Linked DNA regions of Homo sapiens: regions 2, 3, 4, 5 and 6 are each linked to region 1. The links are contacts of gene promoters, found by promoter capture Hi-C in blood cells and fetal thymus (Javierre and others, 2016). All regions are on one chromosome and are shown on one strand. Each heading gives the region's core, a stretch centred on a gene start or on the middle of the fragment in contact. The rest is flanking DNA. Distances are from core to core; before and after follow the strand shown.

The links. Contacts are between HindIII fragments. The CHiCAGO score rates a contact against its expected background, and 5 or more counts as called.
Region 2: a contact is called between a fragment that was not itself captured here and the fragment with the promoter of MACC1 in region 1, in 1 of 17 cell types (monocytes). The highest score is 6.7, in monocytes.
Region 3: a contact is called between a fragment that was not itself captured here and the fragment with the promoter of MACC1 in region 1, in 1 of 17 cell types (monocytes). The highest score is 6.3, in monocytes.
Region 4: a fragment that was not itself captured here is called in contact with the fragment with the promoter of MACC1 in region 1 in 1 of 17 cell types (monocytes); the score reaches 6.3 in monocytes.
Region 5: a fragment that was not itself captured here is called in contact with the fragment with the promoter of MACC1 in region 1 in 1 of 17 cell types (M2 macrophages); the score reaches 5.7 in M2 macrophages.
Region 6: a contact is called between a fragment that was not itself captured here and the fragment with the promoter of MACC1 in region 1, in 1 of 17 cell types (monocytes). The highest score is 6.7, in monocytes.

The regions. Positions count from the first base shown.
Region 1 is chr7:20,215,807-20,219,410 of GRCh38, forward strand. MACC1 (MET transcriptional regulator MACC1) reads right to left here and starts at 1,578. Exons shown (of 7, transcript NM_182762.4): 1 at 1,493-1,578. It overlaps GIRGL (glutamine insufficiency regulator of glutaminase lncRNA), which reads left to right and starts at 1,771. Exons shown (of 4, transcript NR_134569.1): 1 at 1,771-1,816; 2 at 2,450-2,557. RefSeq lists an enhancer at 1,403-2,602. The HindIII fragment of the contact is 5,395 bases long and covers 1,512-3,604 here.
Region 2 is chr7:20,488,697-20,492,507 of GRCh38, forward strand. No RefSeq gene overlaps it. Among named protein-coding and RNA genes, the nearest start is that of ABCB5, 130 kb to the right of the region's middle. The HindIII fragment of the contact is 6,088 bases long and covers 1-3,811 here.
Region 3 is chr7:20,556,424-20,560,272 of GRCh38, forward strand. No RefSeq gene overlaps it. Among named protein-coding and RNA genes, the nearest start is that of ABCB5, 57 kb to the right of the region's middle. RefSeq lists enhancers at 3,059-3,559, 3,780-3,849. The HindIII fragment of the contact is 1,127 bases long and covers 1,332-2,458 here.
Region 4 is chr7:20,537,954-20,541,563 of GRCh38, forward strand. No RefSeq gene overlaps it. Among named protein-coding and RNA genes, the nearest start is that of ABCB5, 76 kb to the right of the region's middle. The HindIII fragment of the contact is 6,913 bases long and covers 1-3,610 here.
Region 5 is chr7:19,955,653-19,959,202 of GRCh38, forward strand. The region is part of intron 5 of MACC1-OT1 (MACC1 3' UTR overlapping transcript 1); the gene reads right to left. Among named protein-coding and RNA genes, the nearest start is that of MACC1-OT1, 180 kb to the right of the region's middle. The HindIII fragment of the contact is 1,094 bases long and covers 1,073-2,166 here.
Region 6 is chr7:20,512,582-20,516,350 of GRCh38, forward strand. No RefSeq gene overlaps it. Among named protein-coding and RNA genes, the nearest start is that of ABCB5, 100 kb to the right of the region's middle. The HindIII fragment of the contact is 2,918 bases long and covers 555-3,472 here.

The DNA of each region.
Region 1 (3,604 bases), core at 328-2,827:
GTTTAACAAACTTTGCCTTAATAGTTTTTATTATCTCTAAAACACAAACAGATAAAAATATTCTATTTGTAAATTAGCTACAAGGAAGTTGAGAAAACTGGAATAAATAATATTTTTGCTTTAAGTTTTAAAAATGAGTCATAACTAAAGCTTTTAAGCAAATTGTAACTAATAATTATGACTTCATAATTTCTAGATTCTGTACACTACCCATGAAATCATATTAAAAATCGCTATTATGAATAAAAGATAATCATGTAATTAAGTTCAGGGGGGCATAAAAGAATCACCACTGAGGTTAAGACAACTTTAAGAATATACCTGAAATTCATCATTATCACCCAGTAATTGCTATGTAAAAACCAGACATTAACATAGATAAGTCAATATCAATCCTAAATTAGACCCACTGAATATAGACTTAAGACATTTTTAGGAAATTAGGAAGACCTTTAATAAATGGAAGGCATTGGAATTTTCACTACATGCTTTTTGATCTTAAAAATAAATTTTTTAAAATCTATCTTTATTAATTGTGGTAAAAAACTTAACATACAATTTACCATCCTAACCATTTGTAAGTGTTTACACTTACAAATTTTAAGTTCAATAGTATTAAATATATTTACATTATTGTACAGTCTCCAAGTGTTTTCATCTTGTAAACTGAAACTCTATATCCATTAAACAACTCTCATTTCTCCTTCCCCCAAGCCCCTGGCAACTACCATTCTAAGTATCATTTATGTGAGTTTGACTACTCCAGATACCTCAGGTAAGTTGAATCATCCAGTATTTGTCTTTTTGTTTCTTTGGTGTGTTTTCCAAGCTTAATTGAAACTTAATTAGGATGAAGCCAAGTTACCCTCCATCATGTATCATCTGTCTATTCAGTACAATGCACTGTGCTAATTTAATGACCCCCTTAACTTAATTACATGATTATCTTTTATTCATAATTTAATGCTATTAACCTAATGAGGTAGGTTATGCACACACACTTTACAGATGAGGAAACTGAGACTTTGCGAGGTGAAACATCTTGTCAATGGTCATAAATCTAATAAGCAGTGGGGCTGCTGATTGCAACTTTATCTATCTTCAAAGCACAGTCTTTTTAACATACCTGTATGCTTTTTGAGATATTTAAAGTTTTTAGGGGATTTCAGCCATCTACATATTTTAAGCAACTCATAGAGTGTTTTGTTTTTGCCTTTGATGGTTAATGTGACCTGGGTTCCTCCTTTTTTTTAAAATAAACTACTTTATTCTAAACCATGTCTCAAGGTATTATTCTATTCTATGTCATGAGGTTTATTCTAACACATGTCCCATAAGCCCACAGAATACCAGTTACCTTCCCTTTATTTAAGCAGGGCTTGATTTGTTAAGCAGCTGGTTTGTTACATTTTTCTGGAAATTATACAACTTCCTAGTGTGTAGCACATATCAATAGTGAAAGGAATATTATTTTTAAAAAATCAGCACTTACATTTGTGGAAGTGAGCCCAAGCTTCTTCAGTTCAGACACATGGTTTTAGTGAATAGAAGTCACTCTACCAAACCCGGGTACTCTTCAAACATGCCTTGCTCCGTATGCAGGCAGGCAACTGCACCCCTGCTTCCTGAGCCACCTGGGACTTGAAGTTCTACCACTGTGGCTCCAAAGCTGCCCAACTAGAAACCCCAAAAGGCAAGAGAACTACGATACCCACAATTCAGGCTCCTCACCCGAAACCAGAAGAGGGCGTATGGCTAGAGTTTCACCCTAAGAAGAAAGGGGAAGCAGGTGGAAAAGCAATTAAAAAAAAATCAGGTGAGTATATCTAAGAACCATCTGTAAATATAATCTTATTTCCATGAAAGGAAATAAAAGTGGTTTAATGTTTGCCAGGGAGTAAGAAGGCACCCTCAGTGTTAGCAATAAGTAAAAAATATTTATGCAAGCAAATCCTCATGCAGCTGGAACTTGCCCCACCAGATTCTCTTTCGGTGATTCAGAGCTGAAGGTGCCTCACTGCCCTGTGGAACAGGTGAATAAAGCCTTCCCAGGTGAGTGACAGTGTCTAACTAGTTCCCCCTTTCCCTCTACATCAGCACTGTGATTGTCACTCAAAGACATAGACATATAGACATAATGGAGACCTTTTGGCATTTCATCTTCTAAAATGCTCTGGATTTTTAAGATAACACTTTAAAATGTGCCTTTTAAAATATAAGCAAGAATAAAGTTTTCTTGATATTTTCTTCCATTTTACTTTCCATTTCTGTGTTTTGTGTTTTCCTTCTGTGTATTTTGTTCAAAATTCAAGAAAGAGAAAATTAGGGGAAAGGGGAAAAAAGGTAAAACTTAGTGAAATGAAATGTGCAATAATTGTTTCACATTTTTTTCCAACATCAGCAACAGAGAATGTTTAAAACAAATGTGTTTCTCTATTTGTTCATACAGCATCTCTCTCTAGCCTATTATCTCCTGTTAGACACAGCCCAGAAAATGAATAGAGACAAGTCCTGGCTGGGTCTGGGTTCAGAAACATAATAGAAGGATTCATCTAATGTAAGTAGATGGCAGAATGGTGACAAAGAAAAAGTTTCCTTTCCCTTTTCTGCACTTTCTCTCCTACTGTTCTAACCACCCCTTCCTCCCTGATGCATCCCTGGCTTCATGCTGCCAGATCACCTAATCCACCCAGATTCCCTTTGAAGTTTCCCCTTGACTCATCCCACAATCCAAACTGAGCTGTTCTGTTTCTTTTTGTCACAGGTTCCTCAACTCTCTACTAGAACCTAGCTTTCCTTTATGTCATTATATTATTTCCAAAACAAATGGTTCTTAATTTCCCCAAACCCTACAGAGGGCATTCTGCATGGCATTTCTCCTCCCTGAAACCATTTTTGCTCATCTTGAAATGTTCAGAGATTTCATTTTTTCCAAAGCTCAATGAAAAACACTCTTCAAGATGTCCTTCTCAGTTTGTCTTAATCTGAGTTATTCTCTTCCTCCTAATCAATTTCATAATATTGCATCTGCTCCTCTCATAACACATTGTATATCTCATTTCATTGGTTTACATGGGTGTGTGTGTACCTATGCAGTCTTACATTCCTATTTGAAGGCAAGGCCTCATTGTATCCCTACTTCATTAACTCATTAATGTACAAGTAGATGTTTGTGATAAACAATCAACACATAAAATAACTGAGATGTTAACTCTAAGGTGTGTGTGTGTTAATGCCTAATGCCATCTTTATGTCTCCCGGAAAACATTTACATTTAAAAAGCTACCTAAATGCCATGCATGAGTACTGTTATCAGAATCCCCCTGCAGTCTGGTCTGGTGTGGCTCCCACAGCCTTTATTTGCAGAAAGGCAAAGCATTAAATCTAGCAATTGAACCCTTGACAGTACCCGAAATGAAAGCCCTAGTGGGTCAGCACTCACTGTTTACCAGCTCCAATCCCTGCTGTGCACTTGCCTTTCTAACAGCTCCCCAAGGACTGGGCTCCCTAGAGTCCTCAGTCCCATGGTCCTGGAAACCTGGCCCTACCTCTATCTATGATTTTTGATTATCAGCTCCAGCATTTATGGATCCCTTCTCCTATT
Region 2 (3,811 bases), core at 76-2,575, 270 kb after region 1:
TTGCTGAAAAAAATCCCAAGTTTAGCAAGAAATTTAAACATCCAGATACTGGAAGCTCAGAGATCCTGAAATAAATATAAACCAAAGGTCTTCTTTAAGGCACATTATAGCCAAATTGTCAAAAGTCAAAGACAAAGAGATAATTCTAAAAACAGTAAGAGAAAAGCATCTAGTCACTTGTAAGGGAACTCTCATCAGACTAAGCAAATTTTTCAGCAGAAACCTTTCAGGCCAGGAGAGAACAGGATGATATATTCAAAGAACTGAAAGACAAAAGAAAATCAGCCAAGAATACTTATTACTTATAAATGAAGGAAAAATAAAGTCTTTCCCAGACAAGCAAAAGCTGAAGGAATTTATCACCACTAGACCAGTCCTACTTCAAAAGCCTAAGGGAATGCTACACCTAGATGCAAAAGGATGATACCTACCATGAACAAAACACACAAAACTATGAAAACCAATGGTAGAGAAAACACATAAATAAGAAAGAGGACACAAATGTCAAGACTACAGAAACCATCAAATCACAATGACAAACATAAGAGACAAAGGAAGGAACAAAGAATATAAAAAACAATTAGGAATTAATTAATAAAAATACAGTAATAAGCTCTCACATATCAATAACAATCTTCAATGTGAATGAATTAAACTTTCCACTTAAAAAATATAGGCTGGTTGAATGAATTAAAAAACATGATCCAACTATATGCTGCCTATAGGAAACTTATCTGTAAAGACACATATATACTGAAAGTAAAGAGAGAGAAAAGGATATTCCATGCAAATGCAAGCCAAAAGTGAGCAGGAGTAGCTATATTTATGTCAGATGAAAGAAACTTTAAGTAAAAAACAATAAATAGAGACAAAGAATTGTTACATCCTCTTGCTGAATTAATCCTTTTATCATTATATAAATATGGGGATACATATAAAGATAAAGCAATTAGTTCAGCAAGAGGCTATAACAATTCAAAATATATATGCACCCAACTTTGATGCACCCAGATATATAAAGCAAATATTAGATCTAAAGGAAGAAATAGACTCCAATACACTATTAGTTGGGGTCTTCAACACCCTACTCGCAGCATTAGGAAGATTATTTACACAGAAAATTAACAAAGAAATATTGAATTTAAACTATACTTTAAAAACCATATGGACCTAACACATTTACAGAACATTTTATCCAATAGCCACAGAATAAACATTCTTCTCATCAGCACATAGAACATTATCCAGGATGGACCATATATTAGACCACAAAACAAGCCCCAGCAAATTTTTAAAAACCAAAATTATATCAAGATTATTTTCAGACAACAATGGAATAAAACTATAAAGCAATTACAATAATTTTCATCTGTTTTGTTTACTGCTGTATTCCCAGAATCTAAAGTAATGCTTACTACAATGTTGATGCTGAATATTTATTGATCTAATAAGTGATGTTAAATTTACATTTATTTTACAAATTCTCTAAGATATTTTTACTTAGATGATATTTTAGAACTACATGTTTAAGTCAGAATATCCCTTAAATAGAGGTTTGTTAAACTTAAAAAGCAATTTCTTTAGAAATGACATCCTTACTCCAAACTTTGTGAATCCTATTATCTCCAAGTATTTGACTTTTATTATATGTCAAAGTATTTTTATACATATATAACTACAGGAAAATTATACATAGTATAATATAATATATATAAGTAATATGTATATATTACTACAGGAAAATTATATGTAAAGACACATAGAAAGTAAAGAGATGAAAAAGGTATAAAGTGTGTGTGTGTATATATTTATAAATATGTGTATAAAAATATACTTTATATACAAATAAACCTTATATACCTTGGATTGGAGATAGACATACATATCTACACGCCCTGTGCAAGTCTGAAATCCAGCCCTACTGGGGGTCTGTAGCCCCTTTCTTTTGGCCAATTTTTCCCTTTTGGAATGGGAGTATTCACCTAATGCCTGTATCCCCATTGTATCTTAGGAATAACTAACTTGTTTTTTATTTTACAGGTGGAGGAGGCTAGCCTAGTCTCAGACAAGACTTTGGACTTTGGACTTTTCAGTTAATGCTTGAAATGAGTTAAGACTTTTGGGGACTGCTGGGAAGGCATGACTGTATTTTGAAATGTGAGAAGGACATGAGATTTGGGAGGGGCCAGGAGAAGAATAATACAGGTTGGATCTGTGTCCCCACCCAAATCTCATGTGGAATTGTAATCCCCAATGTTGGAGGTGGGGCCTGGTGGGAGGTGATGGAATCATGGCGGCAGCTTCTCATGGTTTAACACCATCCCACTTAAGACTGCAGAGTAAGTGAATTATCACAAGATTTGGTTTTTTAAAAGTGTGTGGCACCTTCCCCGTCTCTCTCTTCTTCTGCTCCAGCCAAGTAAAATGTGCCTGTTTTCCCTTTGTTTGTCGCTATGGTTGTAAGTTTCCTGAGGCTTCCCCAGAAGCAGAAGATGCTATGCTTCCTGTACAGCCTGCAGAACCATGAACCAATTAAACCTCTTTTTTTTTTAAATAACCAGTCTCAGGTATTGCTTTATAGCAGTGTGAGAACAGACTAATACAACCACCTCTACATAAATCTGGAGTTGTCTTCTTCTAGGATGGGGTACAACTAGTGAGGATTCATGGCCTGGCCATGGCCATCTTCCAAGAAGACTTCATCACCAAATCTGTTCTTAATTAATTGCACCTGGTTTTGGGATGTTATCTCTATTGCATTTTAATGTCTGCAAAAATATCCTTTGGCATTAACATTTAATGACATCATCTTCACATACATTGGACAAAGCCTCTTTCATTCTTGTGTGTGATTTTCTAATACACTGTTATATTCATAAACTCTGGAAGTTTATTAGGAGACAACAAGAAATAAAAGATTTCAGACTAAGACAGAAACCTTCAAAGAAAATATCCCAAAACTTGTGACATGATTTTAAACTCCTATCCCTATTAAAGTTACAAAATAACCAGATTTTTTGAATATTAAAAGTACTGCTTTTAATACACAAAAATTTGAATGTGTCCCCTGAAATTGATGACATAGCAGACTTACATCTAACTCACCTGATAAGTCAGCTTGCTGATGAATAACAGGCAGGTTGGAAAGGTGGCTACTTTTAGATCTATCTTTATTCCTTCAGTTTATTGAAACAAAAGATACATGAATGCTTACCTCTCCCTTGGACCGGATTACATAGCAGCATTAGCTAAGACACCTAATGTTATAGAGAATCATGAAACATATATTTGTGGCCATAAAACCCAAAGAAAATCTATATATTATTTCTAATATATAAAATAAAAATACGATGTGTATGTTAGACTTTTCTTCACAGGAATATAAATTCTACTCAGGATTACATTGAAGGTAAAATGTACATGTTAATGCCACTTTTTGTCTTATTACTGTCAGGAGACATCAGAGGATTCAAATTTTGCTAGAAACTCACCCTGGTTGTTTTAGTTACTAATCCTCTTATTGCAACATATTGAGCATATTTTGTATAAGTAATCATAATTCAAAACTTGAAATAAATAAAATAAAAATTCTTTTCAGGGAAAAAACTTTTACTCACTTTTTTGAATGAACATTATGTGAAGCAGAAGATCAGCCCCAAGGGCAGGGGCTTTTGTTTGTTTAATTTAGTGTGGATTTCCCAGTGCTTAGCCCAACAGCCTGGCAGTTTGTCAATGCTCAATTAGTATTTGTTGAATGAATGAATTTGGATAATGATCATAATGCTTCTTTATTTCTTAAAGTAAAAGCATG
Region 3 (3,849 bases), core at 645-3,144, 340 kb after region 1:
CAAAGCACTGAAAATAATAGATCAAATGTCATAACCACACGGGCTGTGGAGGCAGTGCACCTCAGAGAGCATCTTAGAAGTAACAGGAAAGCCAAATGTCCAGAAAAACAGCTCCCTATTTCCAAGCAGAGGCTTGTATTTTCACAGTTAAAGTTCCTCTTTATGGAAGCCTTCATGATATAAGGCTTTGACCCACGCCAAACTTCAGGCACCACTGGAAATAGTAATATTTGAAACTAATTCAATCAATTCTATTTGAGCATAAATGAGTTTGGAATGCTTTCCTATTATGATGAATGAGGTGCAGAGGTGAAGAACACAATACGTGAGTAACATGAATGTCACATCTCAGAGCATCACCCATTACTGCCCTGCTGCCCAAAAGGTATACTTAAGAGGACCACAATTTGGGGCTGGAAATACCTAGGGAAGGTGAAACCGAACTGTGAATTCAAAGGGAATGACTAATATGGCAGCCAAGGAAGTATGGCAACCATGCTTTGTAAGCAGTTCACATGCAGGAATCCGATCGCAATCCATGGGGCATCCCATAAGACAAGCTGAACATTGCTAGGAAATCCACCGATGGCAATGGTCAACTTTTATGTGAAAAGGCTAACAGCTAACACCAGAGAGGACTATCTGCAGAGGATAGCACTCCAGCCACCTAGCCAGGGCTTAAGAGTAGGCTGTAGCCTCTGAGTCCCAGGCTATTTTTGCAAGCTTATTCTGACAGAGAACAGACCTATGACAGTGCATCTCAACTTTCTTACATCTTGCTACAAAAAGAAAATCATGGTATTTTTATCCTGAGAAGAAATGGATGAAGCTACTCATAGCAAAGGCTCTGACCACGCACCACATCTGTAACCCTCTACCTCCACATGACAGATAGGAAGCTCCAGTCTGCAGAAAAGTCTGAAGCTTGGTTCTCTAAATGTGGCCTAAAGACAGAGCCAGAGGGAAGGAAGTAAGAGGATCCTAAGGTTCAGACTCAGGGTTAGTGAGGGATCCAGTGTAACTGAGCTCTGCTTAGAAGGCAGATGGCTCTGATCATGCAAAGAAAAGACTTGAAGAGGACACTGAAATGAGCAGAGCAGGGGGAAAGAACAGGGAGCAAACAGGCTTGGGAAGTCAGAAAATTAAGCTTGCATAATTTTACCTAGGCTCAACAGTTGCAGTGTTCCCTTTAAAAAGAAAACATAATCATATTGTTCAAGCATTCATTCATGCAACAAATATCATTGAATCTGTACCACATGATTAATATAGTTTCAGCACTACAAATATACCCATGGGCAAAACAAACACGATCAGGTCTCTAACCTACAAGCTTGAGTCTACTGAGGAAGCCTGATATTAAGTAGTAAGTTCAGATTTTTTTCTCACACATTATGGTAAGTACTATATGGGAAAAGAACTGGATACTTGCTCTGAGGGAGAACAATAAAACCAAGAAACTAAGTACTTTAGATTAAGAGATTAAAAGATGACCTTTTGGAGGAAGGTATATTAAGGTATTCTAAGAAGACGCAGTAAGAAAACATTAGCAATTCTTTTAAAATGCTTTAAATATAAACAAAGTTTATTATTTATATATTATATATACATACAATATTATATATTGTTATGTGTGTAGTAATACATAGTAATATATACAGATGCAGGATTATTGTACAACAGCTAATGACAGACAACTAAAGCCTAGTTAAAAAAAACTGCTTATACTATGAAATATGAAACACCATTACTGGACTCTTACTTTTCTTCTTATATAGAGTAACAGTTAATATTTCATAAAAATATTTAAAGACTCAAGAGAAAAAGAGGGAAAAGAAGTTGCCAGATTTTACTTCTAAATGTATATACTTTTATACCTATGTGTTTCTACAAAAGAAATACTTAATCTTGGTTAATCTTTATGCAATCTTAATATATAACAGCTAATCTGACCAAATAAACTTAGATAGGCTTCACGTTCAAGGGCAGAGTTTTCAAGCTGATAAAAACATTCTGCGCACTAGTGGATGCACCTAGCTCTGAGAAGAATGTCAGTGTAATTGCAACTATTTATAGAATAAGCAGAGAAATTCATTCTGCTATAATATACAGTCTAATTTAAAATGTAGTCAATTCCTAAAAGAGGGTAAAAATTCTAAACTTTGAAATGATGCAACAGGAGGCTAGTGGGCTAATTTTGCTTTTGTATACAAAAGTTTGTGAGCATCTAGAAGGAAATATAAAGGGGTGCTCTAAGTTGCTAGTTATGTATCATGTACAATTTGTGAAAATCCACTCAGTGTACGTGAATGATTTGCATAAACTTTTCTGTTTGTATATTATATATCAATTAAAAGTGGCTCATTTGTTGTTTTTGTTTTGTTTTTAGTTTGAGGGGGAAAAATATCAAGTTCAGGGAAACTTTATCTGGGACACTAGAACAAACTCCTAAAAGGAAAGCTTGGAGTAACTTTCACAAAATTGGAAACTAGTTGGTAAGACAGTTCCAAGTATATTACTTATTGTAAATAAATATACAAGGTGCGATATACAAGAGGTGCACAAAAGCAAATAAAGTCAGAAATCACTGTATTTACCTAAAAGAAAATTTCACTGTAACTGCAGCCTTTAAAAATCAGTGTCATCCTTTAACCTGTATTCTAATCATATTACAGCTTTATCTCACATATGGTCTTCATTTGCAACACCTGGAAAGTTTTATATTTGTGCTTTTGCAATTTCAATCACTGATGCCTACGGCAACTACTCATAAAACTGTAAACACTGCACTTGCCTCTTTCAGTTATAAATAAAGAAGAAAAGTAATCGGATGCTTATGTCACAGGATTCTTAGGGTGTTTCTTTTCCAGCGGGAAAAGCTCTGTAACCGGTGGTGTCCTTGCCCGAGTTTTGCTTGAGCCTGCTGGGCTCATTCTGCCCACTCTGCCCGGCAGCCTGCGCTCACCTCATGCTACCAGCCCGGATCCCATGCCTGCTAAAGGTGAGCCACATGCAGAGTGGCGAGGGGTGTGTGGGTGAGCAAACGTGGGGTCCGGCCACTGTGCACAGCCAGGCACACTGGCTGCCGAGGGACACGCAGCTGTAGGCGCCAACACAGGTGTCGGCTCCCTGTGAAGCTGCGGCTGGACCAAGCATACTGCAAGCAGCTCCCGCTGCTGGCAATGGGGAACGTGGTGGCGCCCAGAAGCTTGGAGACTATAGGAACCGCAGAGTCCCAAAGAGGGTGTCACAGCCCTGGCTCGGGGAGCTCCTAGATCTGAGCTCCCTGAAGGGCCACAGCTCCTCTCCTTCTCTCTTCTCTCCTTCTTGTCACTGCAAGGCGGTGGGCAAGGGGCCTGTTTCAGCCCTGTTTGTGTTACAGCTCTTTTAGTCCCACCATCCCACGGATCCCAACTTCTTCTCCCATGCCCAGGAAGAATGAGGTATGCAGACAACTGGAGGGTGAATAAGGTGAGGAGGTGGTTTATTGAGCGACAGTACAGCTCTCAGGAGACCTAAAGCGGGTAGCTCTTATCCGCAGGCAGGTAGTCCCAAAATCTGCTCAGGCCTCAGCTGAGAGGAGACCCACAGTGTGTAGCTCCACTCTACAGGCAGTCTGTCCTGATGTCTTGCTCAGCCCTCAGCTGAGAGGAGACCCACAACGGGTAGCTCCTCTCTACAGGCAGGTCATCCTGGACATCTGCTCTACTCAAGTCTGGCTGAATCTGGGTGATTCTATGGGTTTCAGGTGGAAGGAAGGGTGTGCTGATTGGTTTATGAGTAGTCATGGGCAGGCTTGGAAAAAGCACCTTAAGTTCTCACTTCGGTGGGCAGAACTGGCAGCCCAGC
Region 4 (3,610 bases), core at 922-3,421, 320 kb after region 1:
GATCCCTTCCTTACACCTTATACAAAAATTAATTCAAGATGGATTAAAGACATGAACGTTAGACCTAAAACCATAAAAACCCTAGAAGAAAACCTAGGCATTACCATTCAAGACATAGGCATGGGCAAGGACTTCATGTCTAAAACACCAAAAGCAATGGCAACAAAAGCCAAAATTGACAAACGGGATCTAATTAAACTAAAGAGCTTCTGCACAGCAAAAGAAACTACCATCAGAGTGAACAGGCAACCTACAAAATGGGAGAACATTTTCACAACCTACTCATCTGACAAAGGGCTAATATCCAGAATCTACAAAGAACTCAAACAAATTTACAAGAAAAAAACAAACAACCCCATCAACAAGTGGGCCAAGGATATGAACAGACACTTCTCAAAAGAAGACATTTATTCAGCCAAAAGACACATGAAAAAATGCTCATCATCACTGGTCATCAGAGAAATGCAAATCAAAACCACAATGAGATACCATCTCACACCAGTTAGAATGGCGATCATTAAAAAGTCAGGAAACAACAGGTGCTGGAGAGGATGTGGAGAAATAGGAACACTTTTACACTGTTGGTGGGACTGTAAACTAGTTCAACCATTGTGGAAGTCAGTGTGGCGATTCCTCAGGGATCTAGAACTAGAAATACCATTTGACCCAGCCATCCCATTACTGGGTATATACCCAAAGGACTATAAATCATGCTGCTATAAAGACACATGCACACGTATGTTTATTGCGGCACTATTCACAATAGCAAAGACTTGGAACCAACCCAAATGTCCAACAATGATAGACTGAATGAAGAAAATGTGGCACATATATACCATGGAATACTACGCAGCCATAAAAAATGATGAGTTCATGTCCTTTGTAGGGACATGGATGAAATTGGAAATCATCATTCTCAGTAAACTATCGCAAGGACAAAAAACCAAACACTGCATGTTCTCACTCATAGATGGGAATTGAACAATGAGAACACATGGACACAGGAAGGGGAACATCACACTCTGGGGACTGTTGTGGGGTGGGGGGAGGGGGGAGGGATAGCATTAGGAGATATACCTAACGCTAAATGACGAGTTAATGGGTGCGGCACACCAGCATGGCACATGTATACATATGTAACTAACCTGCACGTTGTGCACATGTACCCTAAAACTTAAAGTACAATAATAATAAAATAATAATTAAAAAAAAAAAGAGTGCGGAAGCCTATCCCTGTGAGTGTGGAGACCTCAGGAGACAAAATACATTTTACCTAAGTACAGGCTAACCACTCAATTCATCTTAGCATGAGGCGACACATAAATCCAGGTTTCACAGTCATCTCCAGTTATACTTCCTAGTTCGCTCCCTGTAACATTTGAACCCTTTACATACTGGTGCGTAAACACACCCAGAGAGTCAACCTAAGTGATTTCAAGTAGTCCACTAGGTGGCAGAGGTGTTTACGAGGAAGTGAAGCTCAACAATGCTCAAGTCTCCAATAGTTCAGCAAGCCAGGAAATGAAAGAGAACCTAATTGGAGAATATATGGTATTTCTGAATTACAACATAAATATGTATTAAACTGTGAATCTACCCCACCCCCAAACACATACCACACTACAGGGGTTTCAATTTTAAACAAGATATGAAAAACCATCAAAAATAGCAGCAGCTACCTGAGTCAGCCAACAATGCTATTTTAAATAATTTTTAAATAATTAATAAACATAATTCATCACGTAATTAAAGACAAAAACCACATGGTTATCTCAATAGATGCAGAAAAGGCCTCCAATAAAATTAATCATCCCTTCATATAAAAAACTCCCAATAAACTAGGTATTGATGGAACATACCTCAAAATAATAAGAGCCAATTATGACAAACTCACAATCAGTATCATACTGAATGGGCAAAAGCTGGAAGCATTCCCTTTGAAAACAGGCACAAGACAAGAATGTCCTCTCTCACCATTCCTATTCAACATAGTATTGGAAGTCCTGGCCAGGGCAATCAGGCAAGAGAAAGAAATAAAGGGTATTCAAATAGTAAGAGAGGAAGTAAAACTGTCTCTGTTTGCAGGTGATATAATCCTGTATCTAGAAAACCCCATCATCTCAGCCCAAAAACTTAAGTTGATAAGCAACTTCAGAAAAGTCTCAGGATACAAAATCAATGTGCAAAAATCACAAGCATTCCTATATACCAACAACAGACAAGCAGAGAGCCAAATCATGAATGACTGCGCATTCACAATTGCTACAAAGAGAATAAAATACCTAGGAATATAGCTAACAAGGGAAGTGAAAGACCTCTTCAAGAACTACAAATCATTGTTCAAAGAAATAAGAAAGGACACAAACAAATAGAAAAACATTCTATGCTCATGGATAGGAAGAATCAATATCATGAAACTGTCCATATGCTTAAAGTAATTTATAGATTCAATGCCATTCCCACTAAACTACCATTGACATTCTTCACAGAATTAAAAAAAACAACTTTAGAATTCCTGTGGAAGCAAAAAAGAGCCCATATAGCCAAGACAGTCCTAAGCAAAAAGAACAAAGCTGGAACCATCACACTACCCAACTTCAAACAATACTACAAGGCTACAGTAACCAAAACAGCAAGGTACTGGTACAAAAACAGACACATAGACCAATTGAACATAATAGACACCTCAGAAATAAGACCGCACATCTACAACCATCTGATCTTCGACAAACCTGACCAAAAAAAAGCAATGGGGAAAGGATTCCCTATTTAATAGATGGTTCTGGGAAAACTGGCTAGCCATATGCAGAAAATTGAAACTGGACCTTTTCCTTACACCTTATACAAAAACTAACTCAAGATGGATTAAAGACTTAAATGTAAAACCCAAAACTATAAAAACCCTAGAAGAAAAGCTAGGCAGTATCATTCAGGACATAGGCACGGCCAAAGATTTCATGATGAAAACATCAAAAGCAATGGGAACAAAAGCAAAAATTGACAAATGGGATCTAATTAAACTAAAGAGCTTCTGCGCAGCAAAAAACACTATCATCAGAGTGAACAAAGAACCTACAGAATGGGAAAAAATTTTTGCAAACTATCCATCTGACAAAGGTCTAATATCCAGAATCTACAAGGAACTTAAACAAATGTACAAGAAAAAAAAAAACAACCCCATTAAAAAGTGGGCAAAGGACATGAACAGACACTTCTCAAAAGAAGACATTTATGTGGCCAACAAACATATGAAAAAAAGCTCAACATCATTGATCATTAGAGAAATGCAAATCAAAACCACAATGAGATACCATCTCACACCAGTTAGGATGGCAATTATTAAAAAGTCAAGAAACAACAGATGCTAGTGAGGCTGTGGAAAAACAGAAGCACTTTTACACTGTTGGTAGGAATGTAAATTAGTTCAACCATTGTGGAGGACAGTGTGGCAATTCCTCAAAAACCTAGAAACAGAAATACAATTTGACCCAGCAATCCCATTACTGGGTATATACCCAAAGGAATACAAATCATTCTGTTATAAAGATACATGCACATATATGTTCATTGCAGCACTACTCACAATAGCAAAGAAACAGAATCAACCCAA
Region 5 (3,550 bases), core at 370-2,869, 260 kb before region 1:
AGGGTGCATGCTGTAAGCTTAGGCAGCTTCTATGTAAAGTTAAGTTTTCAGGTACACAGAGTGTAAGAGTTGAGCCTTGGTAGCCTCAGCCTAGATTTCAGAGGATATATGAGAAAGTCTCTGTGTCCAGGCAGAAGCCTGCTGTTGTGATGGAGCCCCTCACAGAGAGCCTCTACTAAGGGAGTGTGGAGGAGAAATGTGGAGTTGGAGGCCTCACACAGAGTCCCCACTGGGGCATTGCCTAGTGAAACTGTGGGAAGAAGGCCACCATCCTCCAGACCTGAGAATGGTAGATATACCAGTAGCTTGCACTCTGCATGTAGTAAAGGGGCAGTCACTCAACTCCAGCCTGTAAGAGCAGCCTTGGGGTATGCACTCTGAAAAGCCACAGGTGGAGCTGCCTAAGGCCTTGAGAGCCCACCTTCTGCACCCATTTTCCCTGGATGGGGGACATGTAGTCAATGGAGATGACTTTGGAGCTTTAAGACTTAATGACTGCCCCATGGGGTTTTGAACTTGTATGGGGCATGTAGCCCCTTTCTTTTTGATGACTTCTGTCTTTTGGAACAGGAATGTTTACCCAATGCCTGAACTCCCACTGTATCTTGGAAGCAACTAACTTATTATTTATTTATTTATTTATTTTTACAGCTCATAGGTAAAAGAAACTCATTTCCAGATAATACTGTGGATTTGGAACTTGGGACTTTTGGATTAATGCTGGAATGAGTTAAGATTTTGGGGGGACTACTGAGAAGAGATTATTATATTTTGAAATGTGAGGACATAAGATTTGAAGGGGGCCGGGGTGAAATGATACAGTTCAAATACATGACCCCATCCAAATCTCATGTTAAATTAGATTCTCCAGTGCTGTAGGTGTGGTCTGGAGGGAGGTATTTAGATTATGGGGGTGGATCCCTCGTAGCTTGGTGCTGTCTTTGTGATAGTGAGTTCTCATCAGATGTGTTCCTTTAGAAGTATGTGGCACCTCCCCACCCCAATCGCTTTCTTGCTCCTGCTTTTGCCAAGTGACACGCCTGCTCCCCCTCTGCCTTTTGCCATGACTGTAAGCTTCCTGAGGCCTTTCTAGACGGTGAGCAGATGCCAGCACCATGCTTCCTGTAAAGCCTGCAGAATCCTGAGCCAGTTAAATCTCTTTTCTTTATAAATTACCCAGTCTCGGATATTTCTTTATAGCAATGTGAGAATGGCCTAATACACAGTTCTTATAAGATTGATGACTAGGGAAAAACACAAGTGAGATGGAGATTTGGTGTTCAGAGCATTTGTGTTCAAATCCTGCCATTACCAGTTACTAGCAAACTAAGTAACTTAGCCTCTCTAAGGGAGTTTGCTTTTACACAAAATATAGTTGTTTTGAGAATTAAATGGTAGGAAGCCTGCAAAGATAATTTTAACCTGTAACCAGTTGCACATACTAGTCAGATTTATGTGTGATGACCAAAGGGAATTAATCAGAAAGATATAGTAGATAGTGCACAATGAGAGCACTTCTCAGATAAGTAATGTTATTGAGGGCTTTCAAAAGTGTTCTGTATCTTTCCCAAGCCTTGCTTTTATTTTTTTTAACTGAGATGGAGTCTCACTCTGTCACCCAGGCTGGAGTGCAGTGGTACAGCCTTGGCTTACTGCAACCTCTGCCACCCATGTTCAAGCAATTCTCCTGCCTCAGCCCCTCGAGTAGCTGGGATTACAGGTGCCTGTAATAACTGTCATCAAGAAAATTTTCACAACTCGTATATACCCCATAAATGCTAACTTTAGAATCCAGTATTTTAAAATCACACAGTGTAAAGTTTTTAATATATATATACATTTTTTTAAAACAAATGAGAATGCAGAGAATAATGGGTTTCAATACAGTTTACCTTTGGGAGTACTTTATTCCTCAATTTGTCTATTTTATGTATACTCACATCTGGTTGGTGCTAATAAAAAATGAATTTCATATTTCTTCTTCGTCATTAAAAATACCTAAATAGTTTTTCTAACTTTTAAATTTTATATATCATTGCTTTCTAGTATCACAGGAAATTGTGTGCGTGTGTGTGTGTGTGTGTGTGTGTGTGTCAGAGAGGGAAAGAGAGAGAGAGCAAGAGATTCTGTCATCAGATGCTCTAGATCCTATCTCCACTGTAATGAAGCTTCAGCAAAATTTGAAAGGCCTGTGTGTTTTTGTTTTAATAAATTCATCCCTGAGAAAATGAGTCAGACTAAATAAAAAGTGGGGCAGTGAAGGAGATTCAGAAAGATAATAGCCCAGTATGCCAAGAAGATATAAGCATGGCTGAGCCAATTCATTCTCTGGTGTTTCTTAATTTTCCTTGTGACTTCTAATAATATACCTATTTATTGATACAGACCCCAGAGATATGAATAGAAACACCATTTTAAAATATATTTGTATGGTTGTTGTAAACATGCAGTCTCTGTTACCCTTTGTAATGCTTACAAAAAAAGTCATTTAAATTGTGGTATTTTTGTAAAGTGCACCTATAGCAAATGACAGAGCCAGTCTGAATTATAAATCCATTTAAGCACTCAATCATCAAAATTAGTAATGCTGAGAAATGGGGCACGTTGAAGAAATAGGCTAGATTTAGAATGAGTTAGATAAGATGATATGACTTAAAAGGAAGAGTGACTCAGGACCACAAAGTTAGGTTTACTCTTAGGCTAACTCAACCACCAAAGGGTATACTATTTGCCACCTAAGAATTGGGTACGTTTATGCTCTTACCGCATTGATTTTCAACCAAGCCATGGGTCACTTAACAACATCTGGACACATTTCTGGTTGTCACAACTGAAAGGAGGTGCTATTGGCATTTAGCGGGTAGATGCCAAAGATGTTACTAAACATCCTGCAATCACAGGACAGCTCACACAGCAAAGAATTATTTGCCCCAAAGTGTCAATAGTGTCATGGTTGAGAAATCCTGCTTTACAGGAATTCTCAGGAAGTATTTTTTTTATATTGGGCAATGTTGTTATTAACTGAAAAGGCACCTTGGTTACTGTGGTTTTAACTGGAAAATTACATTTAGTTGGATTATTACCATGTTGAAATATTAATGACTTGGTGACATAATAAAAATAACACTACAAACATTTTTAAGAGTCATTAATTATAAAGAGTTTAGGAAGTTACCAAAACCCTTACAGCTGATATTTAGTACTGCATGTTCCAGTTTGCTAATGCTACAATATAACATCTGATAAAACTCTAATTATGAAACAGTTTTACAATAAAATTTCATATGAGCATTTCACTGTTATTATTTTTCACACAATAAGCCCATTTTCTTTTTAGGTGAAGTATTAATTATAAATTAACTAACTGAGTTGTGATTATTTAGGCCCTCCCTTTTACTGGAAAACAAAACTTACAGATTGATAATCATTATTAAAAAACACCATTTGTACTGCTCAGAATTTAAAGTGAACTGGCCGGGCACGGTGGCTCACGCCTGTAATCCCAGCACTTTGGGAGGCTGAGGCGGGTGGATCACAAGGTCAGGAGTTC
Region 6 (3,769 bases), core at 764-3,263, 300 kb after region 1:
GAGAAGGTATTATTAAGGAATTGGTGCCTGAACATTATCATAAATTATATACCAGACAGATGAAGGCAATGAGAGAGTAATGTAAATTCACTATCATACCTTTCTCAAATGTATTACTTTTGAATTTTGGTATCACTAACTACTCAAATAGTACATACAGATGTACGATTATATTAATGTGTATATTTACCTTGATTATATCACTAAAGTTATCATTCTCTATAAAAAGAGTATCAGAAGATAAAACACATTTCCGCTTGTATTCTCAATATTTCTCTCTCTAAAAATCTATTCAAAAAGCTGTTTTATTTGCTATTAATGTTCACTTAAATCATGGATTAAATGACAAATCAAAAGATTATGGAAAATCTATGGGTTCCTTCATCAGGAATGGGTAATCAAAATGCCCTTGAATAATTTATAATTGAGGTAGGCTCTTTATTGATTCGAGTTTCATTTAAGACGAGAGAAACCTGTAATACAGAATAGAACGTATCACTAGCTATTCCTGTGGCTTAAAAACTGTCTGGTGATCTGAAAAGTAAGGCAGATTAAGCTTCAGGCAGAATATCCAAGAAGTGTCCAGCCCCAGAAATTGTCTCACTGCTGCTACACCCAGGGACATTGCACCTACCAATGAAGAAAGTTGCTGAAAATCAGGAAATTGGTGGCTCAGGTCTATGCTGCCTGTGTCACCACCTGAAGAGCAGAATTATGGTCTCTATCCTAATTAACTTAGTTCAAAATTCAAGTTGACCATCAAAGTACCAGATTGGAGGACCCCAAATCACAACTGAAATCTTAGCCACAAGGACATCTGAGAAATGCTTTACTTTTTCTTTTTAATCTCCAAGCATTACAGTACTAGACGTCCCAGAAGAAAGAGGTTGGAATACATGTTTAAGGGAACCAAGCCACAGAATCCACTACAAAGACTAACCATAATCTTAACAAATGAATAAAGAAGTCAGCTGCAGACTGGAAAAATTATACTCTCCTCATTCAACTGTGAATGTTGAAAAGAAGGTCAGATTGATTTATCTGCCATATTAGAGAAGACTATACTCAAGAACCACATCCAAAACCACTAGGAGCAAGGAAAGTACACTATTGATTTAAGTTAAAATTGTTTGTTAAAAAATATGGGCACGATTTTTGAAAACATTTACACAAACACATTATATTTCTTTAAAGCTAATACAATGCATTTATTATTTCTTCTATGTTTAACTATATTTATTTTTGTTATAAATTTAAGTCTGTTTTAATATATTTATACCAGATAAATATTAAAAACTTTTGTTTGATGGTATATTTGATACTACATAATTTTAATTAATGTATTATGTTTTGATAATATAAGGTTATTCTTTTTACTTTTGAACATTTTAAAATAAAATACTTCAGGGATATTGATAAGAATATACACTTAGTTTCTTAACCTTTTGATTTGAACAAATTGTCATTTCCTCTCATAATGTGCTCACATAACAGAGCCTACTGGGTAAATGCAAGATGAAATAATACTCATAAATACTCCTAAAATCATAAAAGTAAACTTATGGCTTATTTACAACAAAACTTTCAGAAAGGACACATTTGGGAAGTTTTAATTCCAAGTAAAAAAAATTTAGGTACAAATAATTTATCTGAAAACAAGAAAAAGTATTTTCTCAGAGGAAGCATATATTTTGTAAATGTGAATATTGGCAAAAATTTAAAATAATTAATTTTCTGGCAATCGACTCTATTCTGAATGACTTCTTGAAGTCTATGAATTTTATTAACTTTCAAATCCCCATCTAGAAAACAGAGTTAAAATCTTATCAAAAGATAAACTGTGAGGAAAGGAAGCTCTGTGGTTCAGTGAAAAGTCAGATATTGTTAACGAGCGTGAACTGCAGCTGTAACACATGAATCATCATAAGAAGCTGAAAGTCTCACTGTTCAGTGCACAAAACTATTAGTCTAATTTGGCCTCAGCTAAGTGGCAGAGAGTTGGCAATGAGCCAGCTGGAGAGCTGGATGCAGTTATAGTGATTAATTGGATTTTTCTTCTATAAAGCATAGGCAGCTAAGGCTTATTCCCACAAGGACAGAGTAATGATACCAAATACAAGGACTAAAGACAGGATTGGTAATGTCTAGAATAAAATTTTGTAGATATTTTTTGCTGTCTTCAAAAACAGATCCTAGAAGTCACTTAATGAAATTCAAAAAACCTTCTGCCATGCTTCCAGGCCAGCACCATGGAAAGGATTGATTTCATATGCCCCTCCCCCAAGTACCATCTTGTGGATAATCACAGATTATTGTTATTTCTGAATGCTAGGGCTATGAACAATTTTTTGAACAATTTTTAATAACATTTTTGCTTATCTCTATTATTTTTCAAAATAAACATATTTTTGTAAAGAAAAACCTATAAAATATCAAAAAGGTATTTTGCAACCCTCTTCAAAAAAGCAAGTTTTAAAATATAAGTTATAACAGAAATTTTTTTTTCTGCTTTGAACTCTGATAAAGCTATTTCAATGTAGATTCAACAGAGTCACCCGTGAAAAGAAAATATTGCAGCCTATGGAGTATTTTTATTCACAGCATATTATTTGATGACCACAAAAATTCTATCAAGTAGGTGGAGCGAACGTTATTTTTTCCATTTTACAAAGGAGATTGTAATAGCTCCACAGAAATAAATGTTTCGTCCAAAGATACCATAGCTGGTAAATAGCAAAAACAAATTTCCAGTTTGGGCTCTGTATCATTTAAAAAGCAATCTCAATCCCCTCTCCCACATCAAAATAAGCAAACAAAAAATTCCACAAAAATGTTTTAGATTTTAAAAAATCAAATAGTAAAAAATGTTTATATGCTACCAGAAACACTCTAAATTGTTTAAAAGAGAGTTCACCTAAGACATGATCTGGCAATGCTGAATGGAGGAAGGGAGAGGACTTTCTCAGCACTCTCCTCCATTCCCAGGTAACCAATAAATTTATCCTACCAGGGCGTTAGCATCCTTACTTTGTTGTTCTACCCAAAGCAGTGACACTAATGGAGGAAATATGGCCAGGTAAGAGAAGCCCTTCTGACTGGCTGAGGGGAGTGGCACTTTGGCTGGTAAGAGCCTCTTCAGTTCTCCTTACCATTTTGACAAGCCTTGACTAAATTAGAAGATCAAAGAATATTTACATCAACTAATCACAGTATCATATGTCATTGACAAATGATAAAAACCCCAAATACTAAAATTCTCAGGGAATATTTAAACAGACAATAGATGATAGAAGGCTTTCTAGTATATTCTGTAACTGTCTCAAAAGAGATTGAAGAAAAGCACATAATAGATGAAGCATTTTAATATTGAAAATTACAATATACATCAAAATGTTCAGGTTGAATATTGAGTAAAATTTTAACAGTTTTGCTCTTATAAAATAACTCACTGAATTGAGCTACATCCTGCAGAAGCTTTTCTGTACCACCTTGTGGTCCCTTTAAGTTACAAATGGGATTTTTGTAGGTTATTGCTTCTTTTAACCTTAACAGAAATTTCACATTAAATTAAATTTTCTGCTCATCATCACTGGTCATCAGAGAAATGCAAATAAAAACCACAATGAGATACCATCTCACACCAGTTAGAATGGCAATCATTAAAAAGTCAGGAAACAACAGATGCTGGAGAGGATGCAGAGAAATAGGAACGCTTTTACACTGCTGGTGGGAGTGTAAATTAGTTCAACCATTGAGGAATACAGTGTGG